3 separate regions of the Homo sapiens genome follow, and regions 1 and 2 are each linked to region 3. Evidence: promoter capture Hi-C in 16 types of primary human blood cells and fetal thymus (Javierre and others, 2016). All regions are on one chromosome and are shown on one strand. The core of a region is centred on a gene start or on the middle of the fragment in contact, and the rest is flanking DNA. Distances in the headings are between cores, read along the strand shown. Region 1 holds the start of IKBIP (IKBKB interacting protein). Region 2 holds the start of ETNK1 (ethanolamine kinase 1). Region 3 holds the start of ZDHHC17 (zDHHC palmitoyltransferase 17).

Evidence for each region. Contacts are between HindIII fragments. The CHiCAGO score rates a contact against its expected background, and 5 or more counts as called.
Region 1: a contact is called between the fragment with the promoter of IKBIP here and the fragment with the promoter of ZDHHC17 in region 3, in 2 of 17 cell types (total B cells and non-activated CD4 T cells). The highest score is 6.6, in total B cells.
Region 2: a contact is called between the fragment with the promoter of ETNK1 here and the fragment with the promoter of ZDHHC17 in region 3, in 1 of 17 cell types (total B cells). The highest score is 5.8, in total B cells.

Annotation. Positions count from the first base shown.
Region 1 is chr12:98,642,965-98,647,005 of GRCh38, reverse strand. IKBIP (IKBKB interacting protein) reads left to right here and starts at 2,218. Exons shown (of 3, transcript NM_153687.4): 1 at 2,218-2,483. The coding sequence starts at 2,305. APAF1 (apoptotic peptidase activating factor 1) reads right to left here and starts at 1,716. Exons shown (of 27, transcript NM_181861.2): 1 at 1,171-1,716. RefSeq lists silencers at 1,312-1,521, 1,842-2,041 and enhancers at 1,618-2,245, 2,246-2,872, 2,873-3,500. The HindIII fragment of the contact is 4,349 bases long and covers 534-4,041 here.
Region 2 is chr12:22,622,360-22,626,531 of GRCh38, reverse strand. It overlaps ETNK1 (ethanolamine kinase 1), which reads right to left and starts at 1,361. Exons shown (of 8, transcript NM_018638.5): 1 at 946-1,361. The coding sequence starts at 1,101. ETNK1-DT (ETNK1 divergent transcript) reads left to right here and starts at 1,486. Exons shown (of 4, transcript NR_135030.1): 1 at 1,486-1,859. RefSeq lists enhancers at 238-927, 947-1,116, 1,647-1,716. The HindIII fragment of the contact is 2,136 bases long and covers 1-1,596 here.
Region 3 is chr12:76,761,985-76,765,682 of GRCh38, reverse strand. ZDHHC17 (zDHHC palmitoyltransferase 17) reads right to left here and starts at 1,568. Exons shown (of 17, transcript NM_015336.4): 1 at 1,354-1,568. The coding sequence starts at 1,446. RefSeq lists enhancers at 1,221-1,370, 562-1,404, 1,380-1,674, 1,971-2,070 and a silencer at 1,421-1,830. The HindIII fragment of the contact is 3,524 bases long and covers 1-2,902 here.

The DNA of each region.
Region 1 (4,041 bases), core at 969-3,468, about 22 Mb before region 3:
TATCAAACATAAGAGTGAATAGAGCATTGTTACTATTGAGTATTAGTTCTCGTTCAAGGAGGATGTCAGCTCTAGGTCCTCCTTGCTAAACACATTTCCCACAAAGCAACAGGAAACACTTTCTGATGTGATTTCTCAGACCAGGAGGACATGAGGAAAGAATAACAGCCTTTATAGTAAAATACTTGACGTTTCTAGCAACTTTATTTCAAATATAATGCAAATTTTTCCATGGGCATAAAACCCAGTTCACAATATCTGCAAGTTTTCAAAACATTAACAGAACTTTACACAATGTATAGAGTGAAAGAGTCTAAACGGGTTTATCAATTCATTCATTCAATACACATTTGTGCCCCTCCCTATATGTCAGACACCAAGACTACAGAAAAGATTGAGTCATTTGCCTGAAATAATTCACAGTCTACTCAAAGAAGAAAAAGAGAGAGAGAGTGGGAATGTGAATGCCCGAAGTGCAAAAACAGAGCACAAGTAACTTGGAGCTCACAGAAGGGGGCAATAATTATCAAGCTTCAATGACTGTTTTTGAAGTCACCAAATGTAGCACTTGGAAAAACAGGGACGGACGTAGGGCATTTGCCTATGCTTGTCAAGGCTTACAAAATGCCCAGCAGGGGCACAAAACTGATAAAAAGTTATTGATTCGAATCAAAACTCTCATTTTTTAAAATGTTAATAACGTTTTTGTCCTCTTAAACATAAAATGTTCCTTAATTTATAGTAATGAAATTCGATGTGAAAAAACAAGAATGAATGAATTTTTTAGGTGATGTCCAATAGCTAAGCAAATAAGACACTCTGGTTTTCTGAAACTAATTTCCAATTTCACCTAGTCCTGTTAAACTAAAATATGCAAATCTTAAATACGTTTTAAAACTGCACAACTTATCTGAACTAAGTCTCAAAACCTTTTGTAACCCACAACAAAATGGAAAGCCAAAACTCTTCATGGACGTAAAACAGAAAACAGCGCACGTTTATCCACGAAAACCCCAAGTTTACTACTTCCTCATTACAGAATTTCTCTTCCTGGTACAGGAGCAGGATGGTTATCAAATATTCCATGTCCTCAAATTCTCAGTCCCTGAAATCAGCTACCAAGCCTCCAAAGAACCTGGCTCGGGGAGAAAAGCGAGGAGGTCAACTTACCCAAGCCTTTGCGCCTAGGTCTTAGTGGGGAGGGCGGCACTGCCGGGACAAGACTGGGAGACTCCAGGCCGGTGGAGGGAAACGGCAACAGGAGTTTTCCACCGGGAATTAGGGGTGCAGGGCTCTGTCTCGCCACATACCCTTCGCCCCGGGGCAGGTCCGGGCCTCACAGGCGCCTCCCCTGGATCTCTGCAGCCCCGGGGCGCACGAAGACCCCCAGGGACCTCCGAAGGTTGGCGAGGTGGGCGTCCACCCAACGCAGCCTGACCCCACAGTCCCGGAGCGCCGCGGTGAGGCCCGGCCCACGGGCCGCCCTCCGGTGGACCCCACTACTGGACACAAAGGGAGGAGGTCTTCCCGGCCTGTGGCGCCCTTCCCCCGACGGCGGCTGCACCCCGGAGGGAGCCCGGCGCTACTCCGGATGCCGCTGCGGCACCTCAAGTCTTCGCGGGTCGCCGACTGCCCAGACTCCCCACCTCTGGTTCTATCCCTTTTGCCCGGGATAGAGCAGTCACGTCCACTCGCTACCTCTTCTTCTCCGCCTCTGGACAGCGGAGCAGTCAAATCCCGCCGGATCCACCCAGCCCGGACGGCGCGCGCCCGCTTATGCAAATAAACACACCCCAAGCCCCAAGGGGCGGCCACCGCTGCCGCCGCGCACTCCTGCCACGGCTCATGCCCGCGCGCGTAGAAGTGCCCGCCTACCCCGCGGACGGGGCGTGGCTAAGCCTCAGGGACGCGCCGCGTTCCCACCAATGCCGGACTCGGGCAGCGGCGGCGCGCCCGACGTGGCGCGCGCGACCCCTTCGTCCTGCCCCTCCTCCTCGGGTCCCGTCGGCCTGCGCGCGCCCGGGAGTTTGAATTTCCTCGGATTTGGAGCAATATCGCAGTGGAAGGCGCTGTGGGTTGAGGTCGCCGCCCACCTCTCCTAGGGGAACTATGGAGCTGGCAGCTGAAAGACTCAGTGAAGCAACGAGGATGCCGGGGAGAGGGAAGGGGCTGGGCTCTGGGCGGTGCCAAGTCTGTGAGGGGGCGCGGTCACCGCCCAGGGTTCCCACGAACGCCAAGGCGGCCACGTCCTGCTCCCCCTGGTGAAGAAGCTGCCCTGGGCTTGTCGTCCTAGGGTCTCCAGACATGTCTGAGGTGAAGAGCCGGAAGAAGTCGGGGCCCAAGGGAGCCCCTGCTGCGGAGCCCGGGAAGCGGAGCGAGGGCGGGAAGACCCCCGTGGCCCGGAGCAGCGGAGGCGGGGGCTGGGCAGACCCCCGAACGTGCCTGAGCCTGCTGTCGCTGGGGACGTGCCTGGGCCTGGCCTGGTAAGTGGACGCGAGGCTGCCTGGGCCGGCCTCCTGTGGGCCCCCTGCTGTTTGGGCTCCCACCCGGCTCAACATCCAGCCGGAGGTGATCCAACCTCCCAGACCTGGGCCTTCTGTGCCTCTGTCTTGACCCCAAAGGAAGGAAACAGCCCAGCCTTGTTTTTCCCTTTCGGGCGTTTCTTGTATCTCATTTCCCCCCGTGCTGGTAGCATGCCCCTATCGCTCAGAAGGAGTTGAGGCTAAGGTTTGGGAACGAGCCATTTGTTAAGAGCTGCAGATTCGGCCACGCTTTCTGAAGCTCCCGCTACACGTCAGAAGCGTTCACGTTGTTATAAACCGTTACTTCCTGTCCGCTGTGCCCCATTCCGGGACACATCTGCCCCACCCTACTCACCCCATAAATACCTAATGGAAATACTTGCAACCTTAAAACAGATCATTATGTTTGGAGACCGAGGCAGGTGGATCACTTGAGGTCAGGAGTTCGAGACTAGCCTGGCCAACATGGTGAAACCCCATCTCTACCAAAAATACGAATAATCAGCCGGGCGTGGTGGCGGGCGCCTGTAGTCCCAGTTCCTCCGGAGGCTGAGGCAGGAGAATCGCTTGAACCCGGGAGGCGGAGGTTGCTATGAGCCAAGATCGCATCACTGCACTCCAGCCTGGGCGACCGAGCGAGACTCCGTCTCAAAAAAAAAAAAAAAAGAAAACCATATCATTATGCTCCCAAAGGAGCAAACGTTATAGTAGCAGAGCTTGGAGGAGTGCTCATATTTTGATCACCGTGCATGCATTATGAATTTAAGGTCTTTTATTAAGTAAGTTACAGATTGAATATGGTAAAGCTACAAAAACATAGCACTTGTGTTCACTTAAAACTAACCAGTTGCAGTTTTAAAATCAGGTAAATGGCGATATATTGGTGTCATTAGGAAAAATGAATATTAGAAATAACCTTAAAACCAACTCGTAAAAAAAGAAAAAAGAAAAAAACCAACTTGTGAATTTTATTTTCCCAGCCTTTTTTTTTCTGGCGGGAGGAGGGAATAGCCCATTTCATTTTAATAAGATTGGCATCTTAATAGAATTTTTCTCCATTTTTCATTCATGTGTAAAGTTATTTAGTAAGACTGTTGTTAATCTTCCAGAGTGATAGAATTTTAGAAGAGACCCTGGACATCTAGACATTTTTTATGCTACTACATATGGAATTATACTTTACTGGTGACTCATCCCAAATAGTGTATTTTTCAGAGTTAAAAGATTTGTTACGGCTGGGCGCGGTGGCTCACACCTGTAATCCCAGCACTTTGGGAGGCCGAGGTGGGCAGATCATGAGGTCAGGAGTTCAAGACCAGGCTGGCCAACATGGTGAAACCCTGTCTCTACAAAAAATACAAAAATTAGCCAGGCTTGGTGGCACAAACCTGCAATCCCAGCTATTCAGGAGGCTGAGGCAGGAGAATCACTCGAAATGGGGAGGTGGAGGTTGCAGTGAGCTGGGATCGTGCCATTGCACTCCAGCCTGGGCAACAGAGCGAGACTCCATCTCAAAAAA
Region 2 (4,172 bases), core at 112-2,611, about 54 Mb after region 3:
AACGAGGCAGATGATTTGGCTAATTCAAATGAATGTTCTTACATTATTGCTCAGATTTAGAACAAATCCCAAATATCCCAATCTTGAAAATTACTGTTTTTTTTTGTTTGCAAGGGAAAAGGAGAAAAAGAGATCTATTTTTGTATCTAGTTCCTGAAACTAAAGCTAAAAACAGATTAGTATTCAAAAAAAATCACGTAGTGGAAATCATAACTTCCAACTTATTAGAAAACTCCTAGAGTCTCAGGGATTTTTTTCCTCCCAATTTTTTCTCTATCAACACGGTGTCTCATGAAAAGGAAACAGTCACAAGCCACTGCTCCTTCTAGTATCAGGTATTAATTTCAGTAAGACGACTTTAATAATTCAGAAATATCGACTCAAACAAAACAATGTGTGTGGTGCTGCCTAAGAACCGACCTAGCGATGCATGGTCGTGGTCATTACTTTGGGAATTGAGTACGCTAGGGTTTGGGAAGACAAAACGCAGTGTGAGGCATCAATGAAAGCACATCGCAGGGGGAGGGGAGAGGAAGGAAAGATCAGAGAGGATTAATGACTGCATTACTGGTGGGAGGGGAGGAGGTAGACGAGGACCCCGTGCAAGGGGAGTGGAAAGGTTCATTTTGCAGTGACCGTGGACTGGGGAGTGGGAGGAGGGGCAACTATCAGCAGGAATCTCCCCCCGTGGATGGGTCCGTCACTTACGCAGCGGCTTCTAGAAAGAGAAAATGTGCCTCAGGTCAATCTCAAAGAGCAACTGCGACGGGAAGGGGGAGTGACCCTCCTAGGTGTGAGGGGAAATACAGGGTCACTTCCCAATAGACTTAAGGAGATGTTGCCCTAGGTCCTCCTCGGTCATCGTGGGACAGAGGCGATTGTGGTGAGGACCCCCAGAGCCGCGTGAGGGGCATAAGAGACCCAGAGCTGAGGTGTGGGCGTTACCTGCAGGGTCACCTCCTGGGGGTCCCAGTGAGGCCGCAGGTGTTGCAGGAGGCTCAGGGCCCCCTCCCGGCAGCGATGCTCCTCCTGATCCTGAACGGTGACGTTCAGCTTGGGCACCTCCGGGGAGCCGGGAGGGACGTGGATGTAATTGGCCATGGCCCAGGCGACGGCGGAGACTACCACCACGACGACGGCGACGGCGACCACGAGAACGGCGGGCGCCGACAGACTGGTGGATCCTTCCGTCCCGGGGCGCCCTCGCGGGAGGGCTGGGGGCGCTGGGACGGGCGGGCGAGCGGCAGGAGAACGTCTGGAGGCGGCACTGTTGCCGATCCGGGTCTGGACAGCAGCTGAACTGAGCCCGGCCCGCTCTCGGAGAAAATTCCTGTTGTCGGAGCTGGACCGCGGGCGGCCGCAGAGCATGCCGGGGCTGGCCTGACGCTGGCGTCACGCGCGGGGCGGGTCCTGCGCTGCGTCAGGGTGCCGAGGCGGGGTTTCTCGCCTCCGGTCACAATGGGACCTCTGTACCGCGCTGGGCTTGTTGGCCTGCGATTAGCACACACCCATCCCTGGGAACTGCTAGTCTGGAAAGCGGGGCTGCTTCTCCGGGATGAGCCCGAGCCCTGCCAAGCCCCTCAAGGCATTGAAGCTTTAGCTCACCTTATCCGAATGGTCATTGGGCATCTGGACTTGAGTTAACGACTGAATTTTTCTGGGAAGCAAGGGACACGTTCTAAAATAACCCCAGGATCACTCTCCGAACTTGGCCTGAGTCTAGGCAAGCAGTGTTACTCGGTCGCCTTGATCTTGGAGCTGCTGTGTACTGGGGACCTCATACTAGTTGGGTTAACTATATTCCCATTAGCAGTACGCGGGATCGCAGTACTCGGGACAAGCTGAGTTCAGGTATTTGGGTAAGACAACTGCAACACTTCAGAGGTTATTTGTGGAGTAAGATGTTCGACCATACAGTGAATAATTCGAAGCTAGGGAGAACAGATTAGAGTCTGGTATGAAGAAGAAAGGGAAGGAAAGGAATAGTTTTGAAGCTCAGCGCTAGAACGACTCGATGTCCATGCCAGGGTACCCCGAGTGGGCCTTGAAATCTTGCGTCTCAGTGCCTTACAGGGAATGGTAGAAACTGGAAAATCTACAAGTAAAGTATTGGGACCTCCTAATTTTCCTTTTAGATGGAGGAAAACGGGCTGGGATTCCCTGCAGCACTTAGCACACGGTGAATACGTTTGTTAGTAGTAAATAAAACCCTTAACTGGACTGAGTTTAATTAACATTCAAAATGTTTAATTACTTCACTAGCATTAAGTTTACATCCTGATTGTTCAGAAAGAACCTACTTACCTTTGTAATTAACAAAATAATTACTTCACCGATAACGGTAAACTTCCTAAACTAAAAAGAGGGGTGGAAATGGAGCTTTATAATACAGCAAAGAAGTTGATTTAACATTTTTCAAATTTAGTGGTTTTTTTGTTTGTTTTTTGTTTCTGTTTTTTTTTGTTTTGTTTTTGAGACGGAGCCTCACTCTGTCGCCCAGGCTGGAGTGCAATGGCGCGATCTTGGCCCACTGCAACCTCCGCCTCCCGGGTTTAAGGGATTCTCCTGCTTCAGCCTCTCGAGTAGCTGGGATTACCGGCGCGTGCCACCACGCCCAGCAAATTTTTGTATCTTTAGTAGAGATGGGTTTCACCATGTTGGCCAGGCTGGTCTCGAACTCCTGACCTCAGGTGATCCACCCACCTCGGCCTCGCAAAGTGCTGGGATTACAGGCGTGAGCCACCGCGCCCTGCCAGATTTAGGCATAATTTTCTACAAGAAACATTAGAGTGTGTGTTCCTTCCACTTTGGGGAGAAATCATAAATATACTACTACTTTCACATTTCAGATAGTATCTCTTGTATTTTTGTATAAATTGTATTTTTTATTAAGCAGTTGACATTTTAAGAATTTTAAAACTATGTAACTGTAAAACAATTTAATTGAAAATTATGTTGCAAACTGCACTAGTTTGTAATGGTAAATAAGAGTCCATTAACAAGTAGAAGAAAAGAAAAAAAAACTATTAGGTACCTGAGAACAAAAGTAACCGAAAATGTACAGGATCCATGGATAAAATTAATGGAGAAATGAACCATATTCATAAATGAGAAAAGATTAATGTAAAGGCCTCAATTTTCCCTGAACTAATCAGTACATATAATGCAATTCCAGTTAAAATCTCAAAAGGGTTTTTTTACTGAACTTGTTAAAATGACATTGAAATTCATATCAAAACTTAAGGTCCAAGAAAAGCGCTGTAATTGGGGAGAGGAGGATAGGGACAGGTAAGATCAGGGAATATATTGGGAGGACCAACCCTACCAGGATGTATTATATATTGGTTTAGGTATGGGCAAATAAACTACTAGAACATAATAAAGTCCCAGAACAAAACCTACACACATATGAGAACTTTGTATATAACAAAAGTAGCATTAAAAATTAGTGAGAAAGTCCAGACTGATCAATGAACCGTAGTGATACAATTGCTTTTTGTATGAGAAAAAAATTTTGATCCCTCCCTCTTATTATGCATAAAAATTAATTTGGGGAAGATTAGAAACCTAAATGTTAAAAGCAAAACTTTAAAAATGTGCAAGAAATATCAGTTCTTATCAACCTGATCTACTGATTCAATTCTAATCACCTCAAGTTATGTTGTGGATATCAGCAAACCAGTTCTAATGTTTACATGCAAAGCCACAAGAGCCAGAATAGCCAATACAATATTAAAGAAAAACAAAGTGAGAAAACAGACAGACTTGAAGACAGTATAGCTGGGTGCAGTGGCTCATGCCTGTAATCCCAGCACTTTGGGAAGCTGAGGCAGGAGGTTCGCTTGAGCCCAGGAGTTTAAGGCCAGCCTGGGCAACACAGTGAGACCTCATCTCTCCAAAAAAAAAATTAGCCAGGTGTGGTGGTGCACACCTGTAGTCACAGCTACTCCGAGGCTGAGACAGGAGGATTGCCTGAGCCCAAGAGATTGAGGCTGCAGTGAGCCATGATCAAGTTACTGCACTCAAGCTTGGGCAACAGAATTAGACCTTGCCTAAAAAAAGAAAAAAAAATAGTATATGTTCCAATAATCAAGACAGTGTAGTATTGAAGCCAAGGCGAGTGAATCACTTGGGGTCAGTAGTTTGAGACCAGCCTGGCCAACATGGTGAAA
Region 3 (3,698 bases), core at 319-2,818:
ATACTTTCACGAATACTTTCACAGGAACAGATGAATAGAAATCACTTAGCAACATTTTCAAGGCAACATCTGAAAACTACTTTGTCTATTTCCTGACGTATGTTAGGGCCTAAGTGAACCAAAAGAGATGTCTACAATGCCAGTTCTGAAAATGTTACCACTTTGGTCAGACAAGTGTTTAGTCTTACTGTATAGTTCTGTTTATCAGAAACCCAGAGTAGCCTTTTCTACTGAGACTGGCACAGGTATATATTCCGAAGGAACTGTCCCATGTGTTTTTGATAAACCAAAGTGACGAATGAGAGGGTGGTTGAGTGTTAACATGCAACATAAAAGGATGGTTGTCATTATTCACTTTTTAACAAAAACTAGTGGCATGGTACAAACCCAAATCCAGAAAAAAACAGAATCACTCCATTGCAAAGTAACCAGGTAGAGACTTCCATGTTTGTTCATCCTACAACACGACTGTCATCTTTTAACCTCATGAAAACTACCCGAGTTCTTCAGCAAACTGTGCCGCTGCCGCATACAGACATCACTGTGGATCACTAAAAATCAGAATGCATCAAGAATTGCTTCCAAGCCTTAACTAGCACTAGCTCAGCTACAAACTCGGAGGTAAACAAGCACAGACTGACTGACTGTGGAGCGGGGCACTGTTTACTTACATGGGAAGACACTCATGTTGTGATGGGAAACGTGTTGCACTGTCCACCCCTAGCTCCTAGAAAAACGGTACTTTGACAAGCTAATGTGAGTGTAAGTCTATTCCCAAAAGTTTTTACCTCTCTTCTTAATCGCTTAAGGACAAATGCTCAAAAAAGGACGCCCGACACAAGGTGCCCGAGGTGCTACCCATGGCATTACCTGGAAGGACATCACTATGCCCATGAAACTGTCCCCTCACAGTGGACTAAAAGGAAGCAATAGATACCGTCATTCACCCTGGCGAAGGAAAAAGAAATCAAAACCAGACGCGCTTCCACCTGGCCCCAAGAGGCTTGGAGCAAGACTAGGGTCTAAGCTGCGGTTCAAAAACCACACCAGGCCCCTCCGCCTCTGCTCTCAAACGCAGCGCGGCGACACAGCAGAACCATCAACACCTCCACCTCTGTCCTCCAGGCACAGCCAGGGACTGCGTCCCAGAGCCCGCCCCGGTCGGGCCCGCCCCGCTATCTCCTCCCCCGTTATCCGCTCGCAGCCGCGCTCAGGCCTGGATTCGCCTCCCCACCCTCCCCAACTTCGGCACGTCCCACTACCCCACACACGTCGGCCGCCGCCCTCGGCGAGTCCGGGGAAGAAAGGCTGGAGGGCCGCAGGGCAAGGAATCCACTCAGCACGGTTCCTCACCTCTGGGTGGAGAAGGGGCACACAGCCCGCTTCGGTATCGTACTCATCCGGGCCGTCCGCCATCTTGGTGTTAAATCCCTCCTCCCGCTGCATGCTGGGAGAAAGCGTTTCACCCTCCCGGGGCTCGGGCGAGGCGGAGGGCGAGCGCGGGGCGAGCGCGAGCCCCGCCGGAGGCGACGCGGGCCTCCTCCTCCTTCTTCTCCTGCCCCCGTGACGCCCCCTCTGTCCCCTCCCCCCTCGGAGGGCGCGGGTTTCTCCGCGCGTGCGCGGAAGCGCGGCCCGGCCCCAGACTGGATCGCGCTCTGCTGCACTGCGCTGGGGACGGCGGAGGGCTCTGGGCGTGGGCCCCGCGGCTCGGGGGCGGGTCCCGGCTGGAGGTAGATGTGAAGCTCTGGCTGCCCGGGGGAGGCGGCCGGGCGGTTGAGACAGTCGCTTGGGAAACCTAGCAGCTGCTCAGGAGCGAGAACAGAGCTCCGGAGCCGCACGCAGCACAAGTCTGGAGCCCCAGGCAGCCGAGGAGCCCACGCCCACGCGCTCCCACTTCCGCTCCGGGACCCCCGGGACCCCTCTTCAGGAACTCGGGCAGAGTCGTCAGCCAGCTCCAGGGAGGTTTGGGCCCGTCAGGCTTGAGTCGAGACCTGCATCATTCCTGAAGACAAAAGCAGCTTCCCTTTCCTCCACACTTGAAAAGGTCACCCGCAACCTGTCCCTCCGGGGGACGCCCGGAAAAACATGGATACAACTCGGGACTTCCTACTAGAGAACCCTTTTTTTTTTTTTTTTTTTTTTTTTTTTTTTTTTAATGAGACAGAGTTTTGCTCTTGCCGCCCAGGCGGGAGTGCAATGGCGCGATCTCAGCTCACTGCAACCTCTGCCTCCCGGTTCAAGCGATTCTCCTGCCTCAGCCTCCCGAGTAGCTGGAATTACAGGTGCACGCCACCACGCCCGGCTAATTTTTGTATTTTTAGTAGAGACGGGTTTTCACCATGTTGGCCAGGCTAGTCTCGAACTCCTGACCTTAAGCGATCCGCCCGCCTCGGCCTCCCAAAGTGCTGGGATTACAGGCTTGAGTCACCACACCCTGCCGAGAACTCTTTTTAAAATGATCCCAACCTGCTCTCAATCGTCTTGAATTAGTACCACACAAAAAATTTACGAGCTCAAAGCCCACACACCGCCATCTGCAACATTTCGATATAATCCAGGAATTCAGAACTGAAGCCACTTAAACTGAATTCGCTTAAATGCAAGGCAGATAAAATGACTAAAGCCATTTTTTAAAGGATTTTAGGGCGGTATGGGGGAGGTGCTCCCTGTAAATGGGCTGATGGGACAGTTTTAGATAGCATTTGTCTTTCCTTTTAGCTGTTAAAAATTGTAAGTCTAAACAGCTGAGAATTTAGCAGAGATCATGAAAGTTGACCTATTAGAGATCCTGGTACTTACTAATCTGTCTCCTGTTAGGCCAGAAACCACCAGGAAAAAGCCTGTACTCCGATAACGTCAGGCCAATTTGTAAATCAGGAGGGAGGGCACTCCAAAGGAAGCTTGGAATGCCACTGGAAAAGGAAAGAGGAAGCCTCCTTTGTAAGATTAGTTTCCCGCCAAAGGAGTCTGAGGAGGGTCTAAGGAGAGCCAGAATCAGTTCTGCATGGGACGCCGTTTCCGTGGCGGCATGAAGAAAAGCTGGGATTTACGAGGGATTGGATGCTGTCTTGAGGATACAGCAATTTAGTAATTAGGTACCTCCAGTAATAAAGTAGCAACACTAGTAAGAGCAGCAGTTACTCAAAGAGGGGTGAATATGGCGTGTCATAGCTACTGCACGGCTGTGGGAGAAAGAAGTTTCTCAGTTAACTTTGCTGCTGGCTTTTTCTGTATCTGTCCTCCCAGCACAACTACTTTTTCTCATTTCAGTCCGAGCTGATTTTCATTCTGTTCGTCCTGGCCCAAACTAGGAGTCATCTTTTACAGCTAGATAGTCTCAGGGTCGGCCCTTGGAGCATCGAATTGTTTTCAGTCATATGTTAACATGGACATAAGTCATTTTCACTCAAAAATCTCAATTTTTTTTTTTTTTTTGAGACTGAGTTTCACTCATGCCCAGGCTGGAGTGCAATGGCTCGATCTCGGCTCACTGCAACCACCACCTCCCAGGTTCAAGCGATTCTCCTGCCTCAGCCTCCCAAGTAGCTGGGATTACAGACATGCGCCACCATGCCCGGCTAATTTTGTATTTTTAGTAGAGACAGGGTTTCTCCATGTTGGTCAGGATGGTCTGGAACTGCCGGCCTCAGGTGATCCACCCGCGTCTGCCTCCTAAATTGCTAGGATTACAGGCGTGA